2 separate regions of the Homo sapiens genome follow, and region 1 is linked to region 2. The links are contacts of gene promoters, found by promoter capture Hi-C in human tissues and cell types (Jung and others, 2019). All regions are on one chromosome and are shown on one strand. The core of a region is centred on a gene start or on the middle of the fragment in contact, and the rest is flanking DNA. Distances in the headings are between cores, read along the strand shown.

What was found. Contacts are between HindIII fragments. The study calls those that stand out against the background at their distance.
Region 1: a contact is called between a fragment that was not itself captured here and the fragment with the promoter of THY1 in region 2, in 1 of the 25 tissues and cell types used here (dorsolateral prefrontal cortex).

The regions. Positions count from the first base shown.
Region 1 is chr11:119,913,109-119,919,167 of GRCh38, forward strand. The region is part of intron 1 of LOC105369526 (a long non-coding RNA gene); the gene reads left to right. Among named protein-coding and RNA genes, the nearest start is that of LINC02744, 79 kb to the right of the region's middle. The HindIII fragment of the contact is 3,258 bases long and covers 3,181-6,059 here.
Region 2 is chr11:119,420,843-119,426,742 of GRCh38, forward strand. It overlaps THY1 (Thy-1 cell surface antigen), which reads right to left and starts at 2,330. Exons shown (of 4, transcript NM_006288.5): 1 at 2,271-2,330; 2 at 27-87. The coding sequence starts at 63. All of the region lies in intron 2 of USP2-AS1 (USP2 antisense RNA 1), which reads left to right. RefSeq lists enhancers at 1,076-1,642, 1,643-2,208. The HindIII fragment of the contact is 13,176 bases long and covers 1-5,754 here.

The DNA.
Region 1 (6,059 bases), core at 3,560-6,059, 490 kb after region 2:
TATGGTGAAAGCTCAGTGAGATGAAGCCCAGTGCCTGGCACGCAGCAAATGCACACAAGGTGGCGGCCATTAGTATTACTTATTCGCCTGTGTTGTGATGCTCTCTTTAGCTTTCTATTTCTTCCACTAGGCTGTGAGTTCTTTCCAGAGATCTTAACCATGTTCTTTATTGTCTCCTCAATACAGGCCCTCAAAATAGGCTGAATGAAAAGAGGTGTGATCGATGAAAACTGGCCGCTCCTTCTTTGCAACTCCTTCCATTAGGTGGTGGAGTCTACGTTGCCCTCCCTTTGATCCAGGCTGGCCACACAAATTACTTTCACCAACAGAATGCTGTAGAAGTGATACTGCATGACCTCTGAGCCCAGGCCTTAAGGGACTTTGCAGCTTCTGTTCTTGGCCTCTGGCTGCTCTGTGACTACCATGGAAGGAGTTCCACACTAACCTCCTGTAGGGTAAGAGACACGTGGAGGCAGACTGAGCCTCCCAGCCATCCCACTGAGGCTCCAGGCGTGCCAGTGATGTACCTGGCTGAAGCCTGGCCCCCAGTCACCCACTGACGGCAGCTGCAAAGGTGCCCGTGATGAGGTGAGCAGAAGCCTAGAAGAAATTGCAGAATCATGAACAAATGGATAGCTGCCGTTTTCAGCCACCAAGTCTTGGAGTGGTTTTTCATGCAGCAATAGATACATGAGACAGGAAGCTTTGGAAGAAGTCATTTTAGCATTCATAAGGGACAAGGAGGGCAAGCTGGGCCTAGCTGGATTGGATAGTCGAATTTCAGAAGGTAGCATTGCCTAGATTCAGAAAAAGACCATTGCAATCCCACAGATAGGAGCTCTAAAAGTAAGGTGGCTCAGGAGGGCTGAGAGCATCTCAAACAGTGAGTTCTGGTGCTATAATCACAAATGAAGCTGATAAAGAAAACAAAGGTATTGTCATAGAAAAACACTGTGATACCCAAGGAGCCCTGTCCTGAGCTCAGATTATAAAGGGGCTTGCAGGGTATGGAGCGGTGGGGCCAGTGTCTATGTCCCAGGAAGACATAAACATGACACAGACCTGTGTGAAGGGTACCAGGGGCACCGTGGTCCACAGTGAGCTGGCAGTGCCAGCAACAATAAAAATGGGCACATTGAAAATTTTTGAAGCAAGAAGAACAAGGGGCGAGCCCCTCTCTTTATGGTGGACATTATCATGTTGAGAGAGGTTTGAGCAAAGCAATCTTCCCACTTTGCTTGTTTCCTGTCAAGGACAATATTCCCTGATCTGGAGAAAGTAGAAAAAAATACAGCTGAGAGAACTGAAGCCCAAATAAGATGAGGCAGTAGCAAGAACATGCTTGTTGTTGTTCGAGATTTTTATTCCCCAGCCAAAAATGTCTTTTATTCTAGAGCTCAAGAAGAGTTCTTGCAGGATGGTGGCCACACTAATAGTTCTCGCTATGGCAGGGTTTCTCCAGGGTGGTCACCTGTATCAGAATCCCACCCCCACATCCCCAACACAGCTGCTTGGCAAGAGCACAGCCTTCCCAACTCTCTCTCCCACTTATAATGTCAGACTCTAGGGTGGGGATCAGCATTTAGTTAGTGAACACATGCGTACGACTCCCTGACACTGTTCTAGACAATGTAGACATAACTCTCCTTTAATCTTCATAACAATCCTATGTGGGAGATTCTATATGACCTCTATTTTAGAGATAAGAAAACTGAGGCCCAGAGAAGTTGAATGGCCAGGGACATGGAAGGTGGCAGAGTTGGAACTTGAGCATAGGCCATCAGTCTAGCTCCAGAAGCCATGCTCCTAACCACTGGGATATGTGGCCTAGTGGATTATGGCCTAGTGGCCCATGGACTCCAGACAAGAACCACAGGCATCCTCCTGCACAGTTACATTTGCAAACCACTGCTTTAAATAATACCCAAACTGCCTGTAATCCCAGCACTTTGGGAGGCCAAGACAGGAGGATTGCTTGAAGCCAGGAGTTTGAGAAAAGGCTGGGCAACATAGTGAGATGCTGTATTAGTTCATTCTCATGCTGCCAATAAAGATATACCCAAGACCGGGTAATTTATAAAGGAAAGAGGTTTGATGGACTCACAGTTCCACTTGGCTGGGGAGGCCTCACAATCATGGTGGAAGGCAAAGGAGAAGAAAAGGCACATCTTACATGGTGGCAGGCAAGAGAGAGCGTGTGCAGGGAAACTTACCTTTATAAAACCATCAGATCTTGTGAGACTTAGTCACTATCATGAGAATAGCACAGGAAAGACCTGCCCCCATGATTAAATACCTCCCACCAGGTCCCTCCCACAACATGTGAGAATTATGGGAGCTACAATTCCAGATAAGATTTAAGTGGAGACACAGCCAAACCATATCAAACACTATCTCAGAAAACTAAAAAACTAGGAATGGTGGCACACACCTGTAGTCCCAGCTTCAAGAGACTGAGGCTGAAGCAAAAGGATCACTTGAGCCCAGGAGTTGGAGGTGAGGCTGCAGTGAGATATAATTGTGCCACTGCACTCCAGCCTGGATGACAGAGTGATAGCCTGTATCTTAAAAAAATTCTGACACCTGTAATCCCAGCTACTCAGGAGGCAGAGGCATGAGAATTGAGTTGTTTGAACCCAGGAGGTGAAGGTTGCAGTGAGCCAAGATCACGTCACTGCACTCCAGTCCGGGTGACAGAGAAAGACTCTGCCTCAAAAAAAAAAAAAAAAAAAAAAGAAAAGAAAAAAGAAAAAATCCTGAGAATGGGAGAGATAGAGAGAGAAGGAGAAATGCTGTCTCCAAATATAAGACCCTAGAGTCTATCATCTTTGGTAAAGCCTTAGCACAGTCATTAAATAGATGGTTTGTGATCACTTAGAGAAATGGTGAGTATCAGGAACCAGCATAGGTTCACTAAGCATGAGCCAAGTCAAATGAGCTCATTTATTCTATTGAGAGCATGGTTGGACCAGAGCATCTGGAATGTAGCAAACATTTTCCAACATCATTTCCACCCCCCGTGATTGGTTCATTTTGGGCCACTAAGCTGATTGAACCAATGAGTCATGAAGACAGACTTGCTTGAGGCTTTGGGGAGAAAGAGAATCCAGTCTGTCTCTCTCCTTGAATGGGAACAAAGTATGTTGCCCCAATTACTCTGGCAGCAACCTTAAGAGCCTAAGGGGAACCACATTATGCTATAAATGGTAGACAAGAGATGGATGGAATCTGAGTCTCTGCTGACATCATTGAGCGACTGAATCAACCAACCTTGATGCTGCATCTATCTCTAGGCTTCTTATTATGTGAGACCATCAGTTTCTTTATTGTTTAAACCACTTTGATTTAGGGCTTCTGTAACCTGCAGAAAAACATATTGTAACTAATACAAGGGGAATACCCTAGATATAATGCATTTCAGCTTCAGAAAATTATTTTACTCCAGTTTAAGATATCCCTGTGAGCAAAATGAAGAAATGAGAACTAAATAATATAATTAGGTAGATTCACACCAGTAAATCCAAAGTTGACCAGAGACTGGGTGGAACAAGCCAAGTGGTACCTTTAGAACAGCCAGGTGCATGCTCAGGAAAGTTGAGTGTACCTGCCTGTAGCAGGAGCCCCAGGCCAGGAGCATTCCGTCTTCTGGAATTTGTGTGGACATTGCCTGAAATGCCTCATTTGTGCCTGTGCATTCCCACGAGTGGTACATGTCTCAGGCTCCAACATTGGTATATACTTCCCTGAGCTACTGTCTTTTGCAGACCTGATGTCAAGACCTGGGTTTGTCTTCAGGTGCACTCTTGCCCCCTGGACAGGTGTGAGGTCTCCCAACTTTGGCATTTCTCCCTTGACCTTACCCTTTTCTCCTGGATTGGAACTGATCCCTGCCCTCTAAATCTTCAGAAGCAACCCCTGACATATCTTTAGTTTCAGTCCAAATATGCAGCCGTGGCTGGCATTTGATGCTGGAACCAATGTAATGCTTCTGTAACCATGCTCCACTCCATAAGATATGCAGTTATCTTATGTGAAAACATACTGTTCAATGGCATAATCAAGAGGTAGATTCTGACATGACCCACATCCATGTTTCTCTCAGCTTCTCAGCCAAGTGTACACACAAGAGATCAGTGTCACTAGTTAGGTGGTCTCTAGTGGGTGATATGAGAAATTTAGCCCTTAAATATCAGCCTGGCTGTAATCATCTCCTAGGTATAGAAAGGCATCTTACCCAATTTGCAAATGTCCCAAAGCTGCCAGGCTGGCTAAAGTACAGGCTGACAAACTACAACTTCAAAAAGATCCTAAAAGTAGTGGAATAATAGGCTGAGAATGTATTTTTTACTTAACTATTAAAGTAGCCTACAGCAGTTTATGTTAAAAATGGGCTGAGCCCGGGCAACATAGCAAGGCCCCATCTCTAAAAAAAATTTTTTTTTAATTACTTGGGTGTGGTGGCATGCACCTGTAGTCCCAGCTATTCAGGAGGCTGGGGCGGGAGGACCTCCTGAGCCCAAGATTCTGAGGCTACAGTGAGCTATGATTGCACCACTGCACTCCCGCCTGGGAGACAGACCAAATAAAACCCCGCAGTTTCTTTAAAATGGTCTATGATGTCATGTTGCTGCCCAAAAGGCCAATGGCATCTTAGGTTCACACTCGAAGTGTAATGTCCAAACAAAGCAGGTGATATCCCACTGGGAATCCTTTTGGGGGCCCATATTTGAAAATGGCTATCAAAGGAGAGGGGGCAAAGGAACAGAGGGAAGCCTCTGCAAAGCTCCAGAGCTGGGACCTGGGATCAGTCAGTGAAAGTTACAGAGAAGCAGAGGATTCAGCTTATTCTGAAGAATGATTTCCTATACAACAAAACTTAAGACACATTAATATGACAAGTGCTGTGCAAGGCTATGGGTCATTCAGTCCCAGGTTCAAATCCCAGCTCTGCCGCATGCTAAATGCATCACCACGGACAGCTCGATTTCTCTGAGACTCAATTTAAGCTACCTCACTGGCTTAATTGCAATAGTCTACCTAGAGGGTTTAGCATAGTGCCAGGCACAGCATCAGTGCTCAATAATCTACAGTAGCATTATTAATAACAACAATCAAGTAGGGTTTGAGGTAAGGTAATAGGTTCCCCATCATTGGAGTGTTAAGCAGAGGCTATGTGTCAACACATCAGGAATGTCGGAGAGGATTTGTATGCTCTGGGTTGGAGGTGGAAATAGCTGATTTCTACAGCCCCTAAAAACTATAATTCTATGATTTAAAACCATTATAAGAGCCCAGACTTCTGGTCGGTCAGGGACAGTAATCTATTACTAGGATTGAAATTCCCTGCTGGCTCAAGGGCCCAGAAGTTTCATTGTCTGAATTACTGTTCAAGCATGCCTTGCATATGCCTGTGGTCATCCACGTGTTCTGTGTGTGTACACGTGGGAGTGTGTGTGAACATGTGTTTGCCTAGAACTGTGCCCCGCTCTGTAAGACAGCCAGTTATCATGTGTGAAAACATTCCATTTAATGGCATCATGAAGGGATAGATTCTGACGTGACCCAGGTCCGTGTTCTGCTCAGCTCCTCTGCCAAGTGTACACACAAGAGACATTTCCCTCTGCTGATTTCTGTGATGTTTGTTCTTGGACAGAAAGCTTATCAATAAGGTCCTCAGACTGTCGATTCTCTTCAACAGCTGAGGGGCAGGAATGTGGGCTGGGATTTGATAACTTGTGGTTGAGACCCTGCCCAGGGCTACCCCTTCCAGAAAGAATTCTCTAAGCCCCTGGCATTTGTCTTCATCCCCGTTGGATTCCTTTTGTAGGCTTTTTGCACCCTTTAAAGACTTTTTCTCATCGCACCTGAGGCACTCTCTGCCAATCTGTTATATCAGCTCTCTTCTCTTGGAGGAAAAGCATCTGACAAACAAGTAAGTACTGAGTGGTTGGTACCCAGGAGCACTGGTCATGTGCCAGGAACTGTGCCCATCACATGTCAACAAGGGCTTGTAACTCAGCAGGAAAGTTAGAGACAACCCCCAAAGTATAAAAACCTGC
Region 2 (5,900 bases), core at 1,080-3,579:
CCCCAGTCCTGCCCCATGCCGGGTACCTGTTAGCAGGAGAGCGATGCTGATGGCCAGGTTCATGGTTCTGGGATCTCAGTCCTGGATCTGGGGTGGGAACAGGATGGGAATCAGCCAAGCTGTGCCACACTTACCACCAGGGCTGGGGGTCCCTGGGAACATGGCATAGTGGCTATGGCAGTCATCTAAGTCCCTCTCTCCATTCCCCCTCTCGTCCCTGCATCTCACTGAACATGATACTGCCACTGGCTCTTTCCTGCTCAGGGAAAGCAAGGAAGGAGGGAGAACAAGCCCAGTCACGGTGTGTTTCTGCGCTTGGCCATGGAGCACTTACTAGCTGGGTGACTTTAAGTAACTTTACCACTCTTTCTCCTCTTCTTACATTAACATAGTGTATGGTAATATAAGACCTATGAGGGCTGAGGCTTCGTATTTAAAAAAAAAATTTAATCGTGGTAAAATACAAAAAGCATAATAATTACTATTTTAACCATTTAAATTCAGTACTTAAATTCAGTATATTCAGCAGTGCTGGATACATTCACGTTGCTATGCAGCCCATCTCCGGAACTCTTTTTGTCTTTCAAAGTAAAACTCTGTATCTGTTAAACAAAGACTCCCCATTTAGGGACTTCCCATTTCCTGTTCAGAAGAAAATCCCCAATGCTCAAAACCGTTTCCGTTTGCAGATTACTGGCATATAGCATACACTCCAAAGATATTTATTGTGAATGAATGAATGAATCTCTCTGAATCTTACATACCCACCGGGTTATGATGGGGGTTAAGAAAAACAACCAACATCTGGCGATGACTGCTTCATATACGTGAGACACAAATCCCTAAGTCACTCGCCATCCCCAGTGGATGGCTAGATACCATTCACCATAGCTAAGGATGCTCCCAGATAGGGAGCATCTATTCCTATCTGGATAGGACACAAGCTAATCGTGTTCCTGGAGGAGAGAAAGACATAGTGATCTCCGATTGTATGTGAGCCAAGGATGCTTCCCAATGTCCAGCTCTCTGGAGTTCCTGGGACTGCAGTTTTCCAGCCCAGTTTCAATAGCCACCCTGGATAGGCTGTCTGCCTGGTCTTTTTTTGTTTTTTGCAGCCTTGGCTGAACCAACCCTTGGCGAGGCGACGCGGAGCCGGTAGTCTAGCCTATCTGCAGAGCAGTGCTCGCCCAGGAGAGGCCACAGAAGGGGCGTGCACCCGCGAGAGCGCGCAGGGCATTGCCTCGGTTGAGTGCGCCCGGGTGCGCAGGGCGCACCACTAGACGAGTTCAGGGTCCCTGGCGCTCAGCCCCTTGACGGGTGAGGCTAGGATCCCGCGGCGGCTGCAGCTACAATCAATGCTCTCTCTGTCCCGGGGTGGAGCTGCTGCCCTGAGCCAGATCCAGGAGGAAGGGGGGTCGGCATCTGGCTTTTGAATCGAGGACTCTTGTTTGAGATGTTGTGCGGGCTTGGGATCTAGGAGGGGAAGGGGGAGCAATGGCCAGAGCAAGAAAGGGAAGAAATGGGTCTGGGGCTGGAGAGGGTAGAAGAGCCAGGGGAGGGGTGGAGAGCGGCTGGGGAGGTGCAGTCTGTATTCATTTCCTCTGGTCTGTGTCCTCAGGCGGCTCCAGACCCAGAGAAGGTCTGCTCTTCCTCCCTCTCAAGCCCCCGGCGGGCCTCATCCTTAATCCATTTCCGTATTCCAATCCTCTCCTTTCCCAAATGAGTCCCCCTTCCCCCTCTCTCATCCTTTTCCAGCTCTCCCCTCCCCCGTCCGCCCGCCTTCCACCCAGTCCCCGCCTGCGGCACTGCGGCTTCCTTCTCCTCCGGTGCCCCGCACCCAGCCCGCCGCGAGGTCACCCGGCAGATTCCCTCTAGCTCGCCATCCTCCATCCTCTCCCCGCAGTTTCATCCGTCCTCCTCCCCGCCTCTGCGAGCTGGGTTTGGGGACGTCTGGGTGGAATGTAGACCCACAGGCTGTCCTTGGTGCCCTTCCTCCCTGTTCTCCAGCGCCCCAGCCCCAGACACCAGTCCCCCAGCGGGCGAAAGCCCGGGAGCGCCTTCCCCGAAAGACATCAGGGTGCCACGCGGCCCCTGCCCTGCAGAAGCATCCCCCTCCCGCCCCTGCCTGGAAAGCAGGCCCCTCCCTAAGCTCTGCGCCCTTCTTCCCTGGGCGCCCTCGGACCGTGGCCCGAAGCCTAGTGTTGGGAAGTCTTGCATGGGCGCCTGACGGCGGTCCCCGAGCCCCAGGTCCCACCGGCTCCAGTTCCCACCTGGACTGGGGTCTTCCGCTGCTGCAGCCTCCTCCAGACGCGCCGCCGCCTCCGGTTGCTGCACCCAGCTCGGAGCCCGCAGTTTTCACCGGGGATGGAGGAGAGGGGGAGCGGGGAGCCGGGGGCTCAGCCAATCAGAGGCGGAGATTGGGGGAGAAAGGACGGCAGGGTGGGGTGGGGGGTGGGGAAGGAAGAGAAGGCGGTCCCGCATTGGTGTGAGAGTGGCAGGTTGCGGCGGAAGGGGGCCCTCACCCTGTGGCTGGCAGGCCTGGCCAGGGACGGGAGGGTTCGGGACCCCGGGGATCAGGGTGCGGCAGCCCAAAGAACATTATCCTCCTCCCTGAGCCCCGCAATGGTTGTTCCCCTTTTAAGGCTTTAACCCTTTCTTCTGACCTATTCTTCAGGAGTCTGTGGGAAAACCAAAGTGTAAGAGGTGCAGGATGCAGGCCGGGAGCGCCCACGCCTCCACATTTCCTTTTCAGCTGGAGCCCACCTCCTCCGGAGCCTCCAGTGAGAAGTTTTGGAATATTCCAGTCTTTCTGAAAGGAAGCTGGTTGGGTGTTTTTCAGTGTTGGAGCAGCCCTTCGGAAGCGAGGCAGGTGCTGGACCCACCCTGTCCGTCCCTGGTCCCCAGCCCCATTTCGCCCCCTCATCTATTCCAGAGCACCCAGCCCTTCAGGGGGCTGCAGGCGCTTTTTGCTCTGGGCATTACGTCTTCTTCAGCCCCTGGGCTGGCACCTTCTGGTCCAGACAGCTGGAAGGTTCTTCTGGCTTTCCTGAGTACAGTCTGCTTGTTTGGTCTTCAGACCAGGAAGGGAGTGTTGCCTTTTAGCAGGCACTGTGCTGGGCACATTACATTCATGGCGACCTTTAACCCATGGCCGCCTGCTGGGTTCATCCCATCTCAATCCTCACCTCCTGTCTTGGCTGGTAAGTGGGAGAGCTGGAGAACTGACCTGGGCTATGGACCCCAGCTCTCAAGGGTGAGCCATTCCTCTTGCTCATCCCTGCCTAGTGGGAGAAGAGAGAGAGGAACTCTGGGAAAGAGGAGGAGACAGCACAAAAAGGACTGAGTCGAGGCCAACTCCTGATCACCTGGGGCACTCCTGATAACCCACCGATTGGATGTCACCAGAAGCCCTAGGCTCATTTTTAGAGACAGTGCTGATGACTTTCTCTCACTCACAGGTGTAGTGAATTTTTTTGAACTAACGTTTATTTGATTGATTTGTATCCTGCCAGCCTCTTTATGAATTCTGATCACGACATTCTGTGGGCCTCCCCAATGTCTGCCTGCCTGTTCTCCTATTTCTTCATGGAAGTCAGCCCTGGCACCTTCCCTGCAGTTTCTGATACTGCAGTGGCACTGTTGGAAGCCACTGTTGGAAGCTTGCAAGTGGGAGGAGATTCGCTTGGTTTCCCAGCATTTAGGGTGATGGAACACTCTAACTGGAATGAGCCTTGCAGATGGTTAAGTCCAAAGGAGCTATTCACTTTGGTAAACTGCAGAGGTTTCTAGGGCATTTTATGAAAAATGCAGCTGGCCTTGCCCACCTAGGACCTCCTTAATCTAGTACTAGAGCCAGCTGAGTCTGCACTTTTCTCACGCTCCCCAGGATCTGGGGACTCTAACACATGATCTGGTAAGACTGTCCCTCTTCATAGGTGAGCTAACCTGGCTTCTTGTTTGTAGGATACTTTTTAAGGCCATGAATGTCCTGGCCCCTGGCTGCTGACTTCCCTCCTCCCTCCAACTCCATCCCAGCCATCTTCCCATTCATCTACCTGATGCATTCCAGACACACTGGCTCTGGCTTCTGTCTGCCTCTTCATGGCAGCGCACTCCTTCCTGCTTAACAGCTTTCTGATTCTGAGTCCAGGGATCTTAACTGCAGAAGGCATCTGGGCTCTGCTGGCTGAGGCCCTGGATGCTCCGTTTCCCACTCTTTGGCCCTGTCTCTGAGTGTTGCTGGGTGGAAGGCCTAGCAGTGCTATTTTGATAAGGTTATGAGGACCTGGCCTAATTTCTGGGTCCCCAAGCACCTTGCTTTTAGGCAGGGGAGGGGAGTATAGACTGTAGAAGGTGTGGCAATTCTGTGTCTGCCAAGCAAGATCTCTGATTGGATGGAATTAATGGCTCTGATTAGACATCTGAGGTCAGGGGATAGAGCACAAGGTGGTGGAGGGAGGAGATTTTAAAACTCCATTTACTGTGGATAGGATCGGAGTGCTGAAACCAGCAAGGCTTTAGAGGAATCCAGCTAAGGCAAGACTTCCTGCCAGAAGACTGCGGCTGCCCTGTTGGTCTCTTAGATCTCTCTTTTCCCACCATCTCCTGTTTTCCCACCCAGAAACATATGGGGATAAAAACTCTTCTAAAAACACACAGTCCTTTAGCATGACCTAGGGACTGCCAGCCATTCCCTCATTTCATCAGATTGTCTTTCTAGAATCACAGAGGTGACTACAGTGGTCCCATCTTTTAAATTTTATTTTATTTTATTTTTGAGCCAGGGTCTCACTCTGTTGCCTAGGCTAGAGTGCAGTGGTGCAATCACCACTCACTGAAGCTTTGACCTCCTGGGCTCAAGTGATCCTCCTACCTCAGCCTCCTGAGTAGCTGGGACAATAGGCACTTGACACTATGCCCAGCTAATTAATTTTTTTTTTTTTTTTTTGTAGAGATGGGATCTCACCATGTTGCCCAGGCTGATCTTGAACTCCTGGGCTCAAGTAATCCTCCCGCCTGGCCTCTCAAAATGCTGGGATTACAGGTGGGAGCCACTGCACCTGGCTTGCCCCACTATTTTATAGCTGGGACTTGAGGCCCGAGAAAGGTAATGATTTGTCAAGGTCAGACAAATATTTTGAAGCATGGTCTGGACTATTAGATCTTAAGTCTCCTGACTCCATGTTCCCACTGTGCTCTCCAGTGCTCCCAGGGCGGACCCTCAGATCTCTGCTAGACTCATTTCCCTGGTTCACGGTGAAATAAGTAAAACGAGGACAGTCCGGGGTACTCTGAACATAGCTGTCAGGTTATCACCTTGTTTTGATTTTATGTTCTTCACCCTGTTGATGAGGGAGAGATTCCCATCCCCTAAAGTTAGGGGGATCACATGACCTCAACACTGGACGAATGAGAGCAATAGCAGTTTATTAGTCACATATGCTCATACCTGGGAGGATAACACTGCACGCCATGAACTGCTTCATGGGAGTTGCACTCAGAAACAGGTATTACCAGGAGCTGTGGGAGGCAGGCTTTGTAATGTCAAAACGGTGGAATGCCCCCGTTTCCTGTAAGAGAATGTGATTGGCTGTTTGCATAATTCTGTGGGCTGGCAGGGTGCTGAAGCCCAGTACTCAGGGTTAAGCAGAAATTGTGCCTGGCCCCCACAATAAGGAGGGTGGTTTGGCTGGGGGACCTCATCAGCAAAGTAGGGAGGGGATCTTGTAATTAGGCCATTTGAGGTCTCCCTGATATCAAGGCAGCCATAATACTGAGCTCTAATCTTTGACTAATTGAGACTATACACCTGCCTTTCCTATACTTTCATTCTAAGGTTATACCTTTCCATTTTTCTGAAGAGATGGTGGTATTGATATGTGTGTATGTGTGGTTTTTAA